2 separate regions of the Homo sapiens genome follow, and region 1 is linked to region 2. Evidence: promoter capture Hi-C in 16 types of primary human blood cells and fetal thymus (Javierre and others, 2016). All regions are on one chromosome and are shown on one strand. Each heading gives the region's core, a stretch centred on a gene start or on the middle of the fragment in contact. The rest is flanking DNA. Distances are from core to core; before and after follow the strand shown.

Region 1 (7,183 bases), core at 2,475-4,974, 110 kb after region 2:
GCCCAAAAGAAGAGGCATCGGGGTCTCCTCAGGTTTTAGAAATCTGGTCAAACATCCAGAGCTGACTCCCACACCCTACTGCGAGAAGAGCGCGAGCGCGCGTCTCAAAAGGCTCCGCCTCAACAGTTCGGGTCCCCAGGAGGATCCGGGGGCCACCCCACCTCCACCCTGGGCCAGGTCGGTTAGCTAGACCCGCCCAGCGGTCCAGACATACCTTAGGTAATGAGCAGCCTGCTCTGGGCTCAAGGCCTCGGCTTCCGGAAACCTTCGGGATGCCTCCATGACCCTCGGATTGGGTTCCAGTTACCCCGGCGGGAGTTTGGAGCTTGGAGCTTGGAGCTTGGAGCTTGGAGCTTAGAGTTTGGAGCTTGAATTTCGCTCACTCCCGCCCCGCGCATGCTCTGTGCGCCGTGGAGAGGGACACAGCCAACCGACGGCCTCGCGGCCGGCCAATCCGCGACCACGCGCTGCGACGCCTCCGCCTGAGCCCCGCCCATGACGGTGGGCGCCTGCGCCTACGCGCGCCGGGAAGCAGAAGGTGATCTCTGCCTTCGAGACACGGAGTGTGCTGCCTCAGTCTGTGATCCCTCGCGTTTCAATCCAATTCAAACCATGCTGCAGCCAATTCGTTCGCGCGTGCGTGTGCCATCATTGTGAGTGGAGGAGACTGCCCGATATGATCCCAGTCATTGCGGCGACCCCTGGAGATCTCCAACGCCTGCGTCCCCCAACCATACCCTGCCCCGCATCCACAGATATCTTCCCTTCCTTGATCGCCAGTACCTGGCACTGACCGTGCTTTGAATTCAAACACCCTGGGAGGCATAGTCCCTGTGATTTAAACTAACATTGAAGAAGCGACCAGACGCGGTGGTTCACGCCTGTAATCCCAGCACTTTGGGAGACCGGGGCGGGCGGATCACGTGAGGTCAGGAGTTCGAGACCAACCTGGCTAAAATGGTGACACCCCGTCTCTACTAAAAATACAAAAAATTAGCCGGGCGTGGTGGCGGGCGCCCGCAGTCCCAGCTACTCGGGTGGCTGAGGCACGAGAATCGCTTGGACCCAGGAGGTGGAGGTTGCAGTGAGCCGGGATTGCACCACTGCACTCCAGCCTGGGTGGCAAAGCGAGACTCCATCTCAAAAAAAAAAAAAAAAAAAAAAAAGGCTGGGTGCAGTGCCTCACGCCTGTTATCCTAGCCTTTTGGGAGGCTAAGGTGGGAGGATCACTTGCACTTAGGAGTTCGAGACCAGCCTGGGCAACATGGTGAGACTCCCGTCTCTTTAAAAAAAATTTTTTTCTTCTCCACAGGGCGTTATGCTGTATTTATTTTCTTAAAAAGAGAGAGAGAAAGAGAGAAGGGTCTTCAAGAATCTCAAACCCTGGAGGTGGAGGCTGCAGTGAGCCAAGATCATGCCACTGCACTCCAGCCTGGGTGACAGAGAAAGACTCCATCTCAAAAAAAAAAAAAAAATTAAAGTTCTTATTTAAGAAATAAGTAACTAGGTTCACATACTTGGTATAATAAAAGGAAGACAAAAATAATTTAAAAAAAAAGAAGTAGTGCTGTGGTCATCATTTCTTCAGAAGCACCAACTAAGATACAGTCATTTTCAAATGCAGAGCCTAAAAAGAAGGCAGAGCCTAGAGCTTAAGGAAATGTGATTGAGTTTAAGTGGCTTGCTTGGGTGACACTAAATAGGAGGTTGTGGGCCAACAAAAATTGTCCTTGTTCATATACTGTTAAGAACACAGACATGACTCCTCAAGACACTAATTTAGCATTCAGTATTGGAAAACTCACCTATTGGCCCAGTCATACATCATATGTCCAGAGAATTTTAAGCTTTTCATAAAATTTATAGACCGTTATGAGTTAAAAGGAATGTTGGAGGCCGGGTTCAGTGGCTCACTGAACCTGTAATCCCAGCACTTTGGGAGGCCGAGGCGGGCGGATCACCTGAGGTCAGGAGTTCAAGACCAGCCTGGCCAAATGGTGAAACCCCCGTCTCTACAAAAATTAGCTGGGCATGGTGGCGGGTGCCTGTAATCCCAGCTTCTCGGGAGGCTGGGGTGGAAGAATCGCTTGAACCCAGGAGGCAGACGTTGCAGTGAGCTGAGATCGTGCCATTGCACTCCAGCCTGGGCGACAGAGCAAGACTCCATCTCAAAAAAAAGAAAAGGGTTGGGGGGAGGTGGGGGATCTTGGAGAACATGGGCTATTTTCCTGGTTTGTATGACTTTAAGGCCTTTATTAAGAGGCCTTTTAGTATACTATTATCCACATTTTTCAGATGTGGAAACAGGCTCAGAGAGATAAATTGACTTCATCTAAGCTTCCTGAGCTAGGAAGCAGCAGAGCCAGAATTCAATACTAGGTCCATATGGACACAAATCTGTGCCGTTTCGCTGTGTCACACTGGAAAGAAGAGGGCAGTGGCGGGAAATGAGGTTGATGAGGCAGTTGAAGGCCAGGTTATGAAGGAACTTGTTTACTCTGCTAAAGTGTTTGAATCACATCTTTTCCTGGAGGCAAGCTTGGATTGGGCTGTGCTATGGTCTGAATGTCCTTCAAAATTCTTGTGTTGAAACTTAATCCCCACCATGGTGGCATTGAGAGGCGGGGCCTTTTAGCAAGTAATGTCATGAGGGATCCTACTTCATGAATAAATTAGTGCCTTATGAAAGGGCTGGAGGGAGCTAGTTTAGGCCCTTTTTGCTCTTCTGCTTTCCTACCATGTAAGGACACACTATTCCTTCCCCTCCAGAGGATGCAGCAACAAGGCACCATCTTGGAAGCAGAGAGCAGCCCTCACCAGATACCAATCCTGCTGGCACCTTCATCTTGGACTCTTCAGCCTCCAGAACCATAATAAATACATTTCTATTGTTTATAAATTATGAGTTTGATGGCCAGGTGAGGAGGCTCACGCCTGTAATCCCGCCCTTTGGGAGGCTGAGGCGGGCAGATCATCTGAGGTCGGGAGTTCGAGACCAGCCTGACGGAGAAACCCTGTCTCTACTAAAAATGCAAAATTAGCCGGGCATGGTGGCACATGCCTGTAATCCCAGCTACTTGGGAGGCTGAGGCAGGAGAATCACTTGAACCTGGGAGGCGGAGGTTGTGGTGAGCCAAGATCACGCCATTGGCACTCCAGCCTGGGCAACAAGAGCGAAACTCCGTCTCAAAAAAAAAAAATATGAGTTTGAGTCTATGGCATTTTATTATAGCAGCACAAAGGAGCTAAGGATGAGTTGAGAGTCCAGGCGCCCTGGATACCCAAAGGATGAGTAGGATGAGAAGAGCAGAATAGGGGAGAAGATGTAGGAGAGAATTCTGCAGAAAGGAAAAGAGAGATGAGAGCACAAAAATCTTCATCTTGAGTCTGGGGAAGGCCATGTCTGGTTGTGCTTTGGCTCAGGGTCCACCATCATCGCTCATATCCGGGGAATTGTTGAGAACTGAAGATGAAGCAAAGCAGGCCCCTGGTGGTTGTTGTAGGCATGCCCCATTGTGGGCTGTGAAGAAAAGCTAAAGAGAACTCCCTCAGGAACCCCGGCTACCTCCTCTCTGCTTCCCAGCTGGCAGTGATGCCTAAAGGCCCTGATCACCGGGAAGGAAGGACCAACACTCGGCTTGCCTGCCCTTTGGCTATTGGATTTTCTAAGCCCCATTTTCACACAGCTGTAGGGCTCCTCCTTTAAACTCCCCAGCTCTGGCTGCTCCTCCCCTCCCCTTCGGTCCTGTAGTCTGCTTCCCTTGGGCCCTTCTTGGTGCCTTCTGGAGTCCCAGGTCTCAACCCAGGGCTCTGATGACCCAGGAAACTCCCCAGCCCAGGCTCCTAGTCCTCCTTTATAAATGGTCACCCAGGCTCACAGCCTGAAAATAAGAGAGAGATTGGGAGGATTTTGAGTGGGTAAATGGAGAGAATCAAAGAGAGTCAAAATAATAGTTACTACTATATCCCTCTTATGTGACAGGCCCCATTCAAAACACTTTACATCGATTAATTATCTGCTGTTCCTCATTATGCATCTACCCCAATCAAGGGCTCCCATTCCCCCAGCGTCTCTCAAGGGAATGGGGTTTATAAAGCTCTCCCAGCTGGGCTCAGTGGCTCACGCCTGTAATCCCAGCACTTGGGGAGGCCGAGGCGGGCGGATCACAAGGTCAGGAGTTCGAGACCAGCCTGACCAACATGGTGAAACCCCGTTTCTACTAAAAATACAAAAATTAGCGGGTGTGATGGCACGTACCTGTAATCCCAGCTACTTGGGAGGCTGAGGCAGGAGAATTGCTTGAACCCAGGAGGCGGAGGTTGCAGTGAGCCAAGATCTCACTACTGCACTCCAGTCTGGGCGACAGAGGGTGACTCCATCTCAAAAAGAAAAGAAAAGAAAAGGAAAAAGCTCTTCCTAGGCTGGGTGCGGTGGCTTACATCTGTAATGCCAGCACTTTGGGAGGTCGAGGTGGGTGGAGTTCAAGACCAGCCTGGCCAACATGGTGAAACCCCATCTCTACTAAAATACAAAAATTAGCCGGCCATGATGGTAGGTGCCTGTAATCTCAGCTACTCGAGAGGCTGAGGCAGGAGAATGGCTTGAAGCCAGGAGGCGGAGGTTGCAGTGAGCCAAGATCATGCCATTGCACTCCAGCCTCTACAAGAGCAAAATTCTGTCTCAGAAAAAAATAAACAAAAAAAGCTCTCCCTAATTATTGTTAATTTTAAAAGGGTGATAATGGTATTGCTGTTTTTTTTTTTAAGGTCCTCATCTGTTAGAAATACAAGTTGGAGTATTTTCAGACAAAATGATATGACATCTGGGACTTACATTAAAATACTCCAGTACAGAGGGAAAAAAAAGGAGAGTACAGATGAACAAAGATTGGCAAAATGTTGATAATTGTTGAAGCTTGTTACAGAGGTTCATTATCCTCTTCTCTGCTTCTGTGTATGATTGAACATTTCCATAATAAGAATTTTAAAAAACAAAACTTTTCAACCTAATCTTCAAATTACACTGAGTCATCCGCACTCACAGGCCGGAAATATGATAATGAGGCTTTGTGGGAGGGTTCAGAATGCATAAATGGAGAGATGGATGAGGCCGAATAAGAACAATAGCTATTACTTAGATAGCACTGAAGTGCCAGGCCTTGTTCTAAGGACTTTACATGCACTGTCTTTTAATCCTTAACAACAACCTTGTTAGATGGTGTATACTATTATCATCCTCCTTTTACAGATGAGGAAACTGAGGCACAGAAAGATTGAATAACTTACACAAGTTTACACAGCTTGTGAATGGTGAAGCAGAATTCCAAACCCAGGCAGTCTGGCTTTCGACTTTTTGCTCTTTAACATGATGCTAGTTAGATATAGAAAGCAGCTGACAGGTGAAGAAAAGGATTAATTCATCCATTTACTTATTCATTTATTTAGTAAATATGTGTTGAGCCTTTACAAGATGGTCACGTAAGGATCCAGGTGCTGGGGGTAGAGTGGTGAGAAAAACAGACAAGTCCTTGCTATCAAAGAGCTTAAAGTTCCATGGTGAAGATGGACTTGAAACAATAATCACACAAACACTTGGAAAATTACAGACATGAAGAGGTCTCAGAAGGAAAACTACAGGCAATTATGACAGCATACCATGAGGTATCTGACCCAATCTGGAGGGCTGGAAAAGGTTTCTCTGAGGAAGTAGCATTTGATCTAAGAGCTGAAGGGTAGGGAGGAGTTAACCAAACAAAAAGGGAAGGGAAGGGCATTTCAGGCAGAGGGAATAGCATGATCAAAGGCCCTGAGGCAGGAGAGGGCTTGATGTGTATGAAAACTAAACAGGCTAAGATGGTTGGAGCAAGCCTAGAATGCTGAGTTGAAACGGTTTTTTGGACTCCAGTCTAATGCCACAGGTAAGGGAACTGCCAATGGGAAAGAAGGAAGTGACCAGTCCAAGGTCAGACCCTGAACCTGTGACAGAAACAGTACTCAAACCTAGGTACCTTCAATCCCAACCCAGCGTTTTTTCCAGCACACATCATGGCTTCCCTGCATATGAGGAGGGAGTGCCAGCAAAATGTTGCTCTTGGGGACTGAGAATGGAAGAGTGTTTTTGATAACCAAATGAAGTATTCATGCACAAGGAGATCAAAAGTGGGTTTGGGGCCAAGTGTGGTGGCTCACACCTGTAATGCCAGCACTTTGGGAGGCCGAGGTGGGAGGATCACTTGAGCCCAGGAGTTTGAGACCAGCCTGGGCAACATGATTCATCAGACAAAAAACACAAAAATTAGCTGTGTGTGGTGGTGTGTGCTGTAGTCCTAGCTACTTGGGAGGCTGAGATGGGAGAATCTTTTGAGCCCAGGAGTTCGAGGCTGCAGTAAGCAGAGTCACACCACTGTACTCCAGCCCGAGTGACAGAGTGAGATCCTGTCAAAAAAAAAAAAAAAAAAAAAAAAAAAAAAAGGAGCCGAGAGTGGGTTTGGGGCAGGAAAAAAGATGAAATTGATTAGAAACAGTAATAATGTATTTATGAGACAGGGTCTCACTCTGTTGCCCAGGCTGGAGTGCAGTGGTGTGATCTCGGCTCACTGTAACCTCAGACTCCTGAGCTCAAGTGATCCTCCAGGCTCCAGCGATTCTCCAACCTCAGCCTCTTTAGCAGCTAGGACTACAGACATGTGCCACCACATCCACCTAATTTTTTTAATACTTTGTAGAGACAGAGTCTTGCTATGTTGCCCAGGCTGTTCTCCAGCTCCTGGGCTCAAGCGATCCTCCCGCCTCAGCCTCTCAAAGTGCTAGGATTACAGGTGTGAGCCACCAAGCTCTGCCAACAGTAAGAATTTGTGTTTCCCAGATACCTAATTAGGCTTCTCCCACCCCATTTCTAGCTAGGGTTCTTATAAAGTAGGTGGGATTTGGGGGTAGGGGATAGAAGATTGAGACTGAGGGTTTAATCTCCCAGGGGAAGCAGGAAGGAGGAGGAAAGCCATGGGATGGAGGCTGCCCCAGCCAACAGTCATCTCCAGCTCTGCCAGCAGAGGGAGCCAGAAACTGAATTTCCTAAGAATGGCAGCTGGCCTGGCCCCTGGGATGGATAAACCCTTCTTGGAAACTAATCAAGTCAGCCCAGGATGCTGTGGAAATGACAGGGACTGGGAGGAAGGGAGGGAGC
Region 2 (3,171 bases), core at 2-2,501:
CTGTTGACCATAAGAGCTCTTTGCGGAAGAATTCCGACAGGCCTTTGAGGAATTGGTTTTGGAGGCGGCAGTCATCCCAAGACAAGAATTGGGCCAGGAACTGAAAAGCATCTGCATAGCTGCCGAGGGTACAGTGGCCCTGCTTGAGCTTGCGAATGGCCTTTTTAGCCACACGTGGGGGGATGGGGCCACAGAATTCCTTACGGATTTCATCCAGGAAGCGCGGGAAGTTGGCATGCAAGGGGCTTCCTTCCTGGGTGACCGAGATGGCCCAGTCCTTGGCTTCGCCAGTGAAAAAGGAGATCAGAAAGGCCACCCGCTCGGCGCCCCCGGGGAAATGAACCTCATGGTCGGCTATGAAGGTCTCTAGCTGCATCAGGAATTCAGCCAGGTAGACTGGGTCTCCTGAAAAGGGCTCTATCTCAGGCCGCTCCAGCGGTGCCAGAGGGGGTTGCGGGGGCGGTTCCTTTGACGCGGGCGGAGGCAGCGCCGGCGGGGGCGGGATGGGCAGCAGAGGGGGGTCAGCGGGCCCGTCGGGGGTGCTGCGATCCTGGATCACGTTAATCAAAAGATCATCCGAGATACAGTCGGGCTCCGCGCGTGGGGGAGGCCGGCACAAGAAGGGCAGTTCTCCCCCGGGAATGACTTCGATCTCACTGAGCGCGAACTCCAAGTTCTCCTCCGCAAGGACGGGCACTATGGGTACTGGCCAGCGGATGTAGCTGGAGACATTGCCCCGCAAGGAATTAACCTCGGCCAGGGCTCTCCCGAGCTGGAGGCCCAAATTGGCATTCTCCCCGCGAAGGGCATTTAATTCTTCGCGCAGGGCCACATTCGCCATGCGGAGGCTGTTGAGATTTCCTGACGCCTCAGACATCTCGACAAGCCCAGGGGCCCTGGGGCTCCGTGGTGGGGAAAGGGGAACTGGAACTACGGGCGGCCGGAGGAGGCCGAAATGCGGCGGCGGGGCTCGGGAGGGACCGAAGTGCGGCAGCGGGGCACGGGCCAGGCCGGGCCACACCCACCGGGGCGAGCTCGGAGGGCGGCGCTCTGGGCGGAGGGCCCGGCGGCTCGGCCCAGGGCGCGTTACCTCGTCGCCGGGGCCGGAGAGGGCGGGCGGAGGCACGGGGCCCGGAGGCGCCAGGCGGAGGATGCGGGCGACACGGTGGCGGCGGCGACCGCGCGACCGGGCGGGCGGGCGGGCAGGGGCGAGCGGAGCGGGAGGGAGCGGACTGCGGCAGGATCTGTCGAGGAAAAATCTTGCGGCCGGCGATTCCCCGCCTTTTAAGCGCAGCCTCGCACTCCCCCCACCCCACGCAGGGGCGGGCCTTGGGGAACCGCGGGCGCCCACTGGCCGCCGCGCGCCGCTCCCCTCCAGCTCGCCTGCGCCTCTCACTGACTCTCTCCTTCCCTAGCTGCAGCTAACTCGGGTCGGGAAAATGCGACAGCGACTGCCCACTCGAGGTCGTCATGGCGACAGCCAGTGAACGTGTTCCTCTCCTCGGGCAGGCCCCCGAGTGTAGAGGAGCTGCTTCGGGAGGCGCAGCTCAATCTCCAGAGCCTGTTGCAAGGTACCGAGAGGGAGGGGGGCTGCGGCCGGAGCCCAGAAGCGAGATGCGCAGCGGCAGGAGGGAGGCAAAGAAGAAAGAGGACAGGGACCAGCAAGATAAAGACAGAGAGTTTAAAAACAATCGACAAAGCAGTTTCCAGCTTTCACCTTTCAGCCTAATGATTCTGAAAGAGGCTATTTCCAGGGCTGTTTCCCCCCATCCCCAGCCCCTTTTTTCAGCTCAGTAGCCCATGGGGAAACAAGGACAGAGACTGAGGCAGGGCCATAAGTTATGCCATTCACCGAGAGCTGGGTGGGAGACTCCCACAATGTGGGCCTACATTCCCTCCAGCCCCCCTCTTGCCACATCGCCCATGCCTTTGGGATCCTGGCACCAGAAGACAAAGGGGGCATCTGCAGGATCTCCCACTCTGGGCTTCACTCACTCTGCTCTTGCAATAACCCCTGGATAGCTACTGCCTCACCAAAGTAAGCCCAATACACAGCACCCAGAGGTCACCTATTTTGTCCCCCCTAACCAAGCCTGAGCTTCTCGATGTAAAGAATCACATCTTGCTACCCTTAGGTTTCCAGAAGCACCTGGCACAAGGCTGGATTCCCTCCCCACCTGCCAAGAGGTGCTCAGTGGATGTTGAGCATGAAAAGAGGTCTTGTCAGCACTCCTTTATCTATACTAATAAAGGTTAACTCTAATGGCGAATAGAAAACTGCTGATGGGCCACCAACAGGATGACAGCCATAACCCCCACCCCCTACCAGGGCAGTGGTGACCTTGGAAAAGCAAGATGCCAAGGGACACCATGAGCCTTGTGTTCAGATAACAAAGGACTTGCCACACAGAAAAAGAGTCGATGTGCTCTGTGTTGCTACCATGGCAGAATTAGGACCAGTGGGTGGAAACCCAGAAGGAGGCACATTCCACCTCCAGATAAGGAAGAACTTTCTGACACACCTGACAGCCCCAACTGTCCGTGGAAGAAATGAGCTGCCTTGGGAGGGAGGGAGCTCCCCTTCCCTGCAGGTGTGTGCGCTGAGGCTGAAGAAACACCTAGAAGGGCTGCTGAGGAGGGAGTCTGGGCACAGAATGAGGCGTTGGACCAAAGAACCCCAAGAGCAACCCCAAATCTCTGTGATTCTGAGTCTTTGTTCAGTGTACATACAGCATGAATGTCCCTTCTCTACTCTCACTTTCTTCATGTATTCTCATCAAATTCATCACTTCAATCAACCCTATTCAAATCTTGTGCATCCTTACTCACTGATGATGCCGCTGAACTTCTGCCTCTTTTATGCTGTTACCTCCTCCTTCCCTCTCCTTCACCTTAGCCCTCCTAGACCTGACATCACTTACAGCGGGACTAAGGTGCAGGGAACACGGCCCACAAAGGCTCAAGTAAAAGTTCTTGACATCCAAGAAAGAACTCCAGATTGGACTTCCTGGTGTAAATCTCTTCTTGCTTCACACAGGTCATTTCCTTGGTAGGGTCGCAGAAAACCTTAAGAGCTGCAGGGCTTCAAAGAGAGGAACTTGCAGTCCAAAGTAGCAAAAGGTGTCTGCATTCTGAGCCTCTTTTCGTAACTGAGCACTCAAGGTGGGGATC

What was found. The method cuts DNA at HindIII sites, captures the fragments that hold promoters and counts their contacts. A CHiCAGO score of 5 or more calls a contact.
Region 1: a fragment that was not itself captured here is called in contact with the fragment with the promoter of RTL5 in region 2 in 1 of 17 cell types (neutrophils); the score reaches 5.9 in neutrophils.

The regions. Positions count from the first base shown.
Region 1 is chrX:72,238,630-72,245,812 of GRCh38, forward strand. It overlaps ERCC6L (ERCC excision repair 6 like, spindle assembly checkpoint helicase), which reads right to left and starts at 398. Exons shown (of 2, transcript NM_017669.4): 1 at 215-398. The coding sequence starts at 282. It also overlaps a transcript of PIN4 not described here. RefSeq lists an enhancer at 180-329. The HindIII fragment of the contact is 2,377 bases long and covers 2,537-4,913 here.
Region 2 is chrX:72,130,664-72,133,834 of GRCh38, forward strand. It overlaps RTL5 (retrotransposon Gag like 5), which reads right to left and starts at 1,252. Exons shown (of 1, transcript NM_001405151.1): 1 at 1-1,252. The coding sequence starts at 877. NHSL2 (NHS like 2) reads left to right here. Exons shown (of 8, transcript NM_001013627.3): 2 at 1,416-1,571. RefSeq lists silencers at 1,043-1,112, 1,273-1,332. The HindIII fragment of the contact is 11,603 bases long and covers 1-3,171 here.